Linked DNA regions of Homo sapiens: all the other regions are linked to region 1. Evidence: promoter capture Hi-C in 16 types of primary human blood cells and fetal thymus (Javierre and others, 2016). All regions are on one chromosome and are shown on one strand. Each heading gives the region's core, a stretch centred on a gene start or on the middle of the fragment in contact. The rest is flanking DNA. Distances are from core to core; before and after follow the strand shown. Region 1 holds the start of PUM3 (pumilio RNA binding family member 3). Region 2 has its middle 35 kb from the start of GLIS3. Region 3 overlaps GLIS3 (GLIS family zinc finger 3).

Region 1 (2,841 bases), core at 250-2,749:
CTTCTCTTAGCATTTACTGAATTATTGAAAGCAGTACGGAGGCAGCCACGTTGAGTTTAGAGTCAGGCTCACTGGACCAAAGCTACTATGTTTTGCCTTTCTCTGTAAAATGAGAAAAGACCTATTTAAAACGTTCTTATGAGATTTAAATGAGCTGAAATGTAAACTAGTAACAGTTAAGGTAGACGACAAGAACTTATCAAGTATCTATGTGCTGCATAGTGAGATAAGTGCCTGGAAAGTAATGATGGCCCCTGTCATCAAGAAGCATACAGTCTACTAAATTACCAGTTTCAACTCTAACTCCTTAGTGGCCAGAAAACGGAGTAAGTTGGAAGACAGTAAAATCTGAAGTCTGGCACCAGGGATCAAGTGCCAGTTCCTCAACTTTACAGATGCAGTGGGTTGAATAGTCTCCAAAAGATATGTCTATGTCCTAACTCCCAGGACATGTGAAAGTGACCTTATTTGGGAAAAGGGCCTTTGCAGATGTGATTAAGGACCTCCAGATGAGATGATCTTGGATTATCCCCGTGGACTCTAAATTCAATGTTCAGTGTCCTAAAAACACACAGAGAAGTGGCACAGGCACAGGAGAAGGCCATTAGAAGACAGGCCGAGATTGGAGTCATGCAACAAGAGGCCACGGACCGCCTGGAACCGTTAGAAGCTGAAGAAGCAAAGCATTCTCCCCTAGAGCCTTCAAAAGGTGCAGGGCTCTGCCAACAGCTTGATTTTGGAATTCTTGCCTCTAGAACAGTTAAAGAATAAAATTCTGTTGCTTGACACGAGCAAGTTTGTGGTGTCAGTTTCTTCATCTGGAAAATGGGGCATATATCCTAACCACAATCTTATTTCCTGAAGTATAAAATGGAATAACAGCAGTTTCCAGGCACGAGCAGACACTAAAAATGGCAAACATTTATTGAGAGCGTTCCATGCTAAGCGCTTTGCACGTATCACTTAATTATTTCTATTTTATTGATCAGGAAGCCAAAGCTCATAAAAACTGTAATTTTCCCAGAGCCACACAGCTAGCAAGTGAAAAAAACGGGATTACAATTCAAATCGACTCACAAGATACCCCTTTTATCCTCCACGCTGGACTGCTGAGGAAGTATGCAAATTAACACACTTTAGAAACTTTAGCTACTTCAATATTTGTTCAGGCTACGGGATGCAGGCCTCTTATTAACCGCGCCAGCCAGGTCTGTCCTTCAGCAGCCTGTTCTGCCTCGCAAGAGCTCTCCCTCTCTTTCCAGCACGGAAGCCACAGGGTTAATGACGTCATTTCCCGTGGCCGTTGTCGCGTCCTCCGCCCGACGGATTCTTGCAAGGGCCAAAATCCTCGCGCCTCAAGAGGAGGCATAACAGCAGCGGACCAATAGAAATTCCGAATTTTTGTATTCTCTGGGAAGCTCCACCTCTTAGTCCCTGATCCGCCGCGGAAGATGAAAAAAAGCGGCCCGGGGGCGGAGCAAGGCAAGGAAGCGGAAGCGGAGAGGCGGTCGGGATCCGCTGCGCGAGCTGTCTCGGTCCCACGTGTGCGGTGAGTGTGGCAGGCTCAGCGGTCGCTCTTGGGAGGGGTTCGCACCCTGCCGGGCGCTGGAAGTCGGGAAGGTCTCTCGGGGCTGTTGTCCACTGGGCAGTCTCCTCTGGCCTCTTTCTGGGCTAGGAGTTTGGGACTGACTGGAGCCTGGCAAGAAGGGCGGGACTGGCCGGGCGCGGTGGCTCACGCCTGTAATCCCAGCACTTTGGGAGGCCGAGGCGGGCGGATCACAAGGTCAGGAGATCGAGACCATCCTGGCTAACACGGTGAAACCCCGTCTCTACTAAAACTACAAAAAATTAGCCGGGCATGGTGGCGGGCGCCTGTGGTCCCAGCTACTTGGGAGGCTGAGGCAGGAGAATGGCGTGAACCCGGGAGGCGGAGCTTGCAGTGAGCCAAGATCGTGCCACTACACTCCAGCCTGGGAGACAGAGCAAGACTCCGTCTCAAAAAAAAAAAAAAAAAAAAAAAGAAGGGCGGGACTCCGACCTCTCTCCCACCACGTTGCCCTGCGTGCCGGGTTAGAGTGGACTAGCTTCACTCCGGAATCCCAGCCCGTGCTCGGCCTGATCAGCCTGTCTGTGCTACTTCACAAACCCCAACTCCAGTGCTAGGCGGTTTGCCTGAATGTACGCAGATTCTAAGTGCTGGGAGGAAACGAACTGGATGCTGAGTTGGCAGATAGTGGAGTCTGAAGAAGTGATCTTTAAACGGAGATTTGGAAGCTCAGGGAGTACTTCAAGCAGAGGCGATAATGGGCTAAGTTCCTGAGATGGGAGCTAGGAAGGAGTATAGTTAGAGTACAAGATAAAGTTAGCCGGATAGAGTGGAACTAGGTTCTGTAGGGCCTTGAAGGTCATGATGGGGAATTTTTTTTTCTGTACAATAGGAAAACATTTCCGTTCCTATTACCATGTGTAGAAAACATTGAAGACTTGTAAGCAAGTGAGAATCATGAATAGGCCCTGGTTCTCTTTAGAAAATGTATTACATTTGGAAGCTCAAGAGATTGTATTGGTAATAGTTTGCATTAGGGTGGTGACGTAAGGGACATTTAAGAGAACTAACTTATGGTTCAGCGTGGCAGAGTAGAGAGGAAAATGTCAAGGGTAACTCAGATTTCTTACTTGAGCAGTAAAGTAGATGATGTGCCATTGGCTGAGATGGAGGACGATAGGGCAGGGAAAAATAGTATATTGTTGTTTGTGGGGCAAACAACAATAACATAAAGAACAACATAGAGAATTATGTTTTGGACATATTAAGGGTAAGGTTCCTGTTAGACACATAAT
Region 2 (2,841 bases), core at 252-2,751, 1.5 Mb before region 1:
TCTGGCACCAGAAACTGTAGCAATGATCCTAAGGGATCCAGGTCCCTGACCCAGAACTGCCACCCAGAGTATTGGTGACCTGGCCTGGCCTGGTGGCTTTGGCCCTGTGGAGCAACTTTAATGCTAGTTACAGCAGCACCAGGGGCTTAGTGGATAGATAGCTTAGCCATAGAGATCTCTGAAAGTATTCAGAGCTAAAGAAGAGGAAACCCATATATCACATGTGGCCATGGAGAGGACTGATTTTGAATCCACATGAGATGCTTTTTGGAGACTCCCAAGATTAGGTCAGGGAGAAGAGTTGGCAGTGGGCTAGAGCCAGAGAACTATTGCTTTCTACTGCTATTGTGACCCTACTTTAATATCATGCCATGTGGCTTATGGGTAACAAACAGATTGGGAAATGGAGGCCCACAGAGGTGTAATGACTTACTCAAGATCTCACAGCACATCATCTCCAAACTCAGGTTTTCTAACTGCTTGCTCCCTGCCCTTTCTTCTTCATCACCTGTCACCAAGTAAATTTACCGAAGTCCGCAAATTTTTACCTTAGGTTGTCATAGCTCTGTATTAACTAACTGAATTTCTTGGAACTGGATACAAACACCAAGGCTGGAATGAGGGAAGAATCACCTTATCCTGTTAAATCTGGTTCAATGGGGGAAGGACCCTGGGGCAATTCAGAGTAGGGCAAGGGACCCAGGGGATGCCAAGTGTGTTCTGAGGCTTCTTGAAAGGGATGGATGCCTCTAAGAGAGGTCTAAATAGATCCTGATGTTTCAGGTTTAAACTAAAACCCTAAGCCGTGTTGAAAGTGCCCTTGTTTAACCCCGGGCTACTTAGGGTACTACAGGTGAGATGCCAGGTGTAAGCTAGGTTAACGCCATCCCCAGGGCTGGTGAGGGAGATAGACACCAGAACCACTGAATTCTGCCTGTTTTTCACACTTGAAGGCTTTGCACAGGAAAGCACGTGGAGCAGAAGTGATAATTCAGATGATTAGAGCAGAAGCCCTTTATGGAGTAGCATTACCAGATCTTTTTATTTGCTATATCTGGCAAGTTTACGAGCAACTGAGGATTTACTTTAACTGAACCATTTGGTTTAGCTGTCTACAATTAATTGATCAATTTCACAGGTTAATTGGCTTAGGGCTTCATTTCACTTTGTGGTATAGACTTTGATCGTCACTGGAGTTATTTCTTATGCTTCTAATTTGTTTCAATTATGGCACTAAGATGCTCAGTAAAAATGAGTGGAAATGGGGCCAGGTACGGTGGCTCATGCCTGTAATCCCAGCACTTTGGGATGCCAAGGCGGGTGGATCACGAGGTCAGGAGATCAAGACCATCCTGGCTAACATGGTGAAACCTCGTCTCCACTAAAAACACAAAAAATTAGCCAGGTATAGTGGCGGGCGCCTGTAGTCCCAGCTACTCGGGAGGCTGAGGCAGGAGAATGGCATGAACCCGGGAGGTGGAGCTTGCGGTGAGCCGAGATCACACCACTGCACTCCAGCCTGGGTGACAGAGCAAGACTCCGTTTCAAAAAAAAAAAAAAAAAAAAAAGGTGGAAATGATTTCTCTTCTGAGAGCTGCTCTTATTGTAGTTGTGGGTTGAAGAGAGCAGGCATGACTGCCCATGGCTGGGCATGCTTTTAAAGGTCAGAGTACAAAATGGCCTTGGACAAGCCCCAGGTTCGCTGTAAGTGGCCTTCTGTAGCACCTTTGTGTGTGAGAATGAATGCTGTGACTCATAAGGGCAGTAGTGTGGATTGAGGGAGTATAAGGAGAAGACAGGCAAAGCAGCATGGGGACAGTGGCTGAACAGGCCCAGTGCTCACTAGGCCAGGTTGGGCTGTTTGGCGTTCACCTAGGTAACCTGTTGCCAGGAGGACAACAATAACTTCCCCATGACAACGCTGGAGCAAGAGCCCTGGCACTGCAAACAGAGCCAGAAAAGTCTGCCCTAGCTTGGACTTGCTGATTAATGAACATGCATTTGCACTACAATTGTTTCAGGAAGGGTGGAGGGGACAGAGGGCACTGACCAGCTTCCTTGCCTCTCCAGCCACCAGCTCCTTGACAGCCAACCTTTTCTGTCTACCCACATACTCTGTAGCTGCCACGTTTTAATTGTTGCTTGTTTTGAGAGGTTCTGTGATCTCTCTGTAATTTGTAGAAGGACTGAATGTTATATCCAGAAAGCTCCTTGGGAAACAGATTTAGAACCTGCCTGGAATTTACACTATCAGATGGTCTTTCACTGTCCCCTTTACTCAGTTTCTTTACCTGTAGTAGAATCAATTCCTATTACCTAAATTTGGGTGAATTTTTATGAGATCTCACTGCTCAGTCAGAACTTGCTGTAACTGTTTGTCTTGATACTCAAATTCAAGCCCTCTGAATTATGAGACTAGAGTATTGTCTGCCTCATGAAGAGGTCACTTTTGTTTCTAAGCACTTAAGCTCCTAACAGGAACCCTAGTCCTTTCCTCTCCTGCAGAGGTCATCAGAGCAGACAAGGTGGCACCATTCCAGGTAGGATTTAAGGAATCCAAGAAATTCCCAATGCAAAGTGGTTTTCCCTGGCGTTGCCTGAAATCGCACCTTTTTGTAAAGTGTTGTTTGGAGCTTTATGATAATATAATTTCTCTTGGGAGGATATTTCCAATCAGGTGTAACAGCTGGAAGTGAGGGGAATCAAAACAGATGAAGTTGCGGGGGGTGGGGGGGGGCATCACATTGCTTCACAATTACGTCTAGAGCCACCCTTCACAAAAATCCCATTGGAAGCTAATAGCATTATTTGACAAAAGGGTCTCATAGCCAAGTATGTTAG
Region 3 (2,841 bases), core at 134-2,633, 1.5 Mb before region 1:
TTTTTTTTCCTCTGACTGTTCTTTCCTGCTAGTAAATTAAGCCTGAGGACATTCATTCTTTCCACTGTTGTCTCTCTCATATTATAATTATTGATCTTTGGAGTTGGAGTGTTAATTTACTCTTCTCCCAGATTATAGAATACATACTTCTTGAAGGAGATAACTCAGAGTGGCGTCACATGCACATTTCTCATCTCTGGAGAAGTCATTTTCTGTGTTTCTGTGATTATTTTCTGTAGAGGGCATTATATTGTAAATAAGGTGGAAATACAGGACTTAACTGTTTTACTTTTCCCTAAGTTTGGTTGGTTCATAGACTATCAGGACTGGGGAAAAAAGGCACATAGGAAATCTGTGTGATAAAAAAAAAACTTGTTGCCATTCTCATTCAAGGAAGATGACACATAACAAAACCTTTGAAATGACATTGATACATAGTTTGATTAAAAGATGTCCAAGTCCCCAGTTTTTGTAGTTTCCCACTTACTTTAGGCAGAGTTGACACAAAAGCCAAATTTTCTATTGAGATGAAATATCCTTACGGAAAAGCACACTTATCTTGAGCTCGATGCATTTTTTTGCAAGTGGAACACACCCACATAACTAGTCTCCAGATCAAGAAACAGAGCATTATCAACACACCAGAAACATCTCTCACACTCCATTCTAGTTACCACCTCTGCCTAAGGTAACCGTTGCCCTGGTTTCTAACAGATATATTAGTTTTGTCTGGTTTTTTTAAAAAAAATCTTGTGTAAATGGAATAATTCAATATGCACTCTTGGGTCTGGCTTCTTTCGCTCAACACAACAACCTTTTATTAGGTCAAATAATTTGGACTCCCCCTTTAAAGATGATGGAAACAGTCTGGCTTGCAGAAATTAGTGAGGCATTACTTAATATGATAGAATTAAGGAAAAACACTAACCAAACTGAAGCCATATTTATATTCTGATGACAGTCTGGTTAGGGAGACCAAACAGACACAAGTGAAATGTCTAATGTGACACCAGTGTAGGAAGCAGGAAAATTCAGAGGCGTTCCTTCCACTAAGGCAACCCAGAGTGTATTTCACCGTCCTTTCGTGAGGGCCAGCAACCCCCATAATAAAAAAAAAAGTAAGTGCCTGGTTTCAGTATTGAACTGTTCATTTGCAACTTTTAGCTGGGATTTTTCATTGTTCACCAGTAGGCCAAGATAAAGGCAAGAATAACATGCCTACCCAGAAGAATGGAATAGAATTTCTGTGCCACTTTTTCCTAGTAGAGAAAGGAAAAGACTAGGAAACATGCAACTGTAATTAAACTGGTTCCATAAGCCATGGGATTCATGATTATGGTCACACCTCACTTATATTGTATTTATTCAGGCAGTAAATTATAGATGTGGGTTATAATTGTATATTTCACTTACACCATGTTTTTCAGTATGAGCAGTACAGAATGAACAATATAAATAGAATAAATGTATGTGAATATATAGATGTAGCATAACTATATGATAAATGTACTGTGAAAAATATATATAGGTGTAAAACAATCTGTGTACATGTAAGGGCTGGGGAAAGTTCAAAGATAAATTAGCTATGACCCCAAAACTTAATAAAATTAGAATTTAGACAGGAAAGTGAAACACAGGCAAATAACTGTAATGTAGTGTAGAAAGTTATGAATGTTGAAAGAGAGGTGTGTAGAGTAAAATAACATTTATTGGGTCCTTTTGTGTGCTGAACAGTGTGCTAAGCATGTGATGTGGATTCTCATTTATTATTCTGTAATTTTTTTTTTTTTTGAGACATAATTTCGCTCTTGCTGCCCAGGCTGGAAAGCAATGGTGTGATCTTGGCTTACTGCAACCTCCCCCTCCTGGGTTCAAGTGATTCTCCTGCCTCAGCCTCCCAAGTAGTTGGGATTACAGGCATGTGCCACCATGCCTGGCTAATTTTGTATTTTTAGTAGAGATGGGGGTTTCACTGTGTTAGTCAGACTGGTCTCGAACTCCTGACCTCAGGTGATCCACCCACCTTGGCCTCCCAAAGTACTGGGATTACAGGCGTGAGCCACCGCACCTGGCCCATTATTCTGTAATATTATGAACTATGCACAGTAGCATCATTATCCCCATTTTTACAGGTCAGATTTATAGAGACTAAAAAAGGATCAAGGAGGGCCTAAAGTGGGTGTTTGGGGTGGGCTTAGAGGATAAGTAGGATCTGGATTTGGGGGAAAAGAGAACAAAATAAAGGAGGAGGGAAAAGACCATCGAGCTGGACTCTAAGGCGGTTTGTAGAATTAACAGAAACAAAGATCCAATCATGTTCCACTTTGGGAAGAAAAGGAATTTGTAAAACTTGAATTATGAGGTTCTCAGTAGCTGAGGGCAGACTTGAGTCAAGGAAAGCTGGTGGGGCCACCCTTGTCTGACATGATCTCTTCAAAGCCAGGAACAAGAATGACTGCACATTCCTTCAGGAGCAGCAAGACTTGCTCAACTGCAGATGGGCAGATAGCGTCACAATGCAAGATCAGATCCTGTCCTATGCTCCATGATAAAGAGATCAGACTTTCTGAATACCAGTGATTTCTAAAGTTCTAAGCCAGCTCCATCAAATTTCTTTTGTAGGCCTGCTGAATATTGTACACAGAAAACCAACCAGATGCCAGGGCTAGTTACGAAGTTTTGTTATTCTTGTGTGTGAAGAAATGGATTAATGTTTTCCCAACCTTTTCAGCATGACCGATAGATTCCACTTCTGTCTGTAACTTGGCTGAGTCATTCACAGAGGTTTTCAAAAAATCTTTTTAATAAATATGTTGTCATGTTGGTTAAGGGCCTAGTCAT

The links. The method cuts DNA at HindIII sites, captures the fragments that hold promoters and counts their contacts. A CHiCAGO score of 5 or more calls a contact.
Region 2: a fragment that was not itself captured here is called in contact with the fragment with the promoter of PUM3 in region 1 in 1 of 17 cell types (total CD8 T cells); the score reaches 5.4 in total CD8 T cells.
Region 3: a fragment that was not itself captured here is called in contact with the fragment with the promoter of PUM3 in region 1 in 7 of 17 cell types (naive CD4 T cells, monocytes, activated CD4 T cells and 4 more); the score reaches 10.9 in naive CD4 T cells.

What each region holds. Positions count from the first base shown.
Region 1 is chr9:2,842,753-2,845,593 of GRCh38, reverse strand. PUM3 (pumilio RNA binding family member 3) reads left to right here and starts at 1,499. Exons shown (of 18, transcript NM_014878.5): 1 at 1,499-1,549. RefSeq lists enhancers at 1,168-1,407, 1,231-1,525, 1,909-2,470. The HindIII fragment of the contact is 3,665 bases long and covers 1-2,841 here.
Region 2 is chr9:4,333,632-4,336,472 of GRCh38, reverse strand. It overlaps a transcript of GLIS3 not described here. Among named protein-coding and RNA genes, the nearest start is that of GLIS3, 35 kb to the right of the region's middle. The HindIII fragment of the contact is 5,205 bases long and covers 1-2,841 here.
Region 3 is chr9:4,293,460-4,296,300 of GRCh38, reverse strand. The region is part of intron 1 of GLIS3 (GLIS family zinc finger 3); the gene reads left to right. Among named protein-coding and RNA genes, the nearest start is that of GLIS3-AS2, 4.4 kb to the left of the region's middle. The HindIII fragment of the contact is 4,620 bases long and covers 1-2,841 here.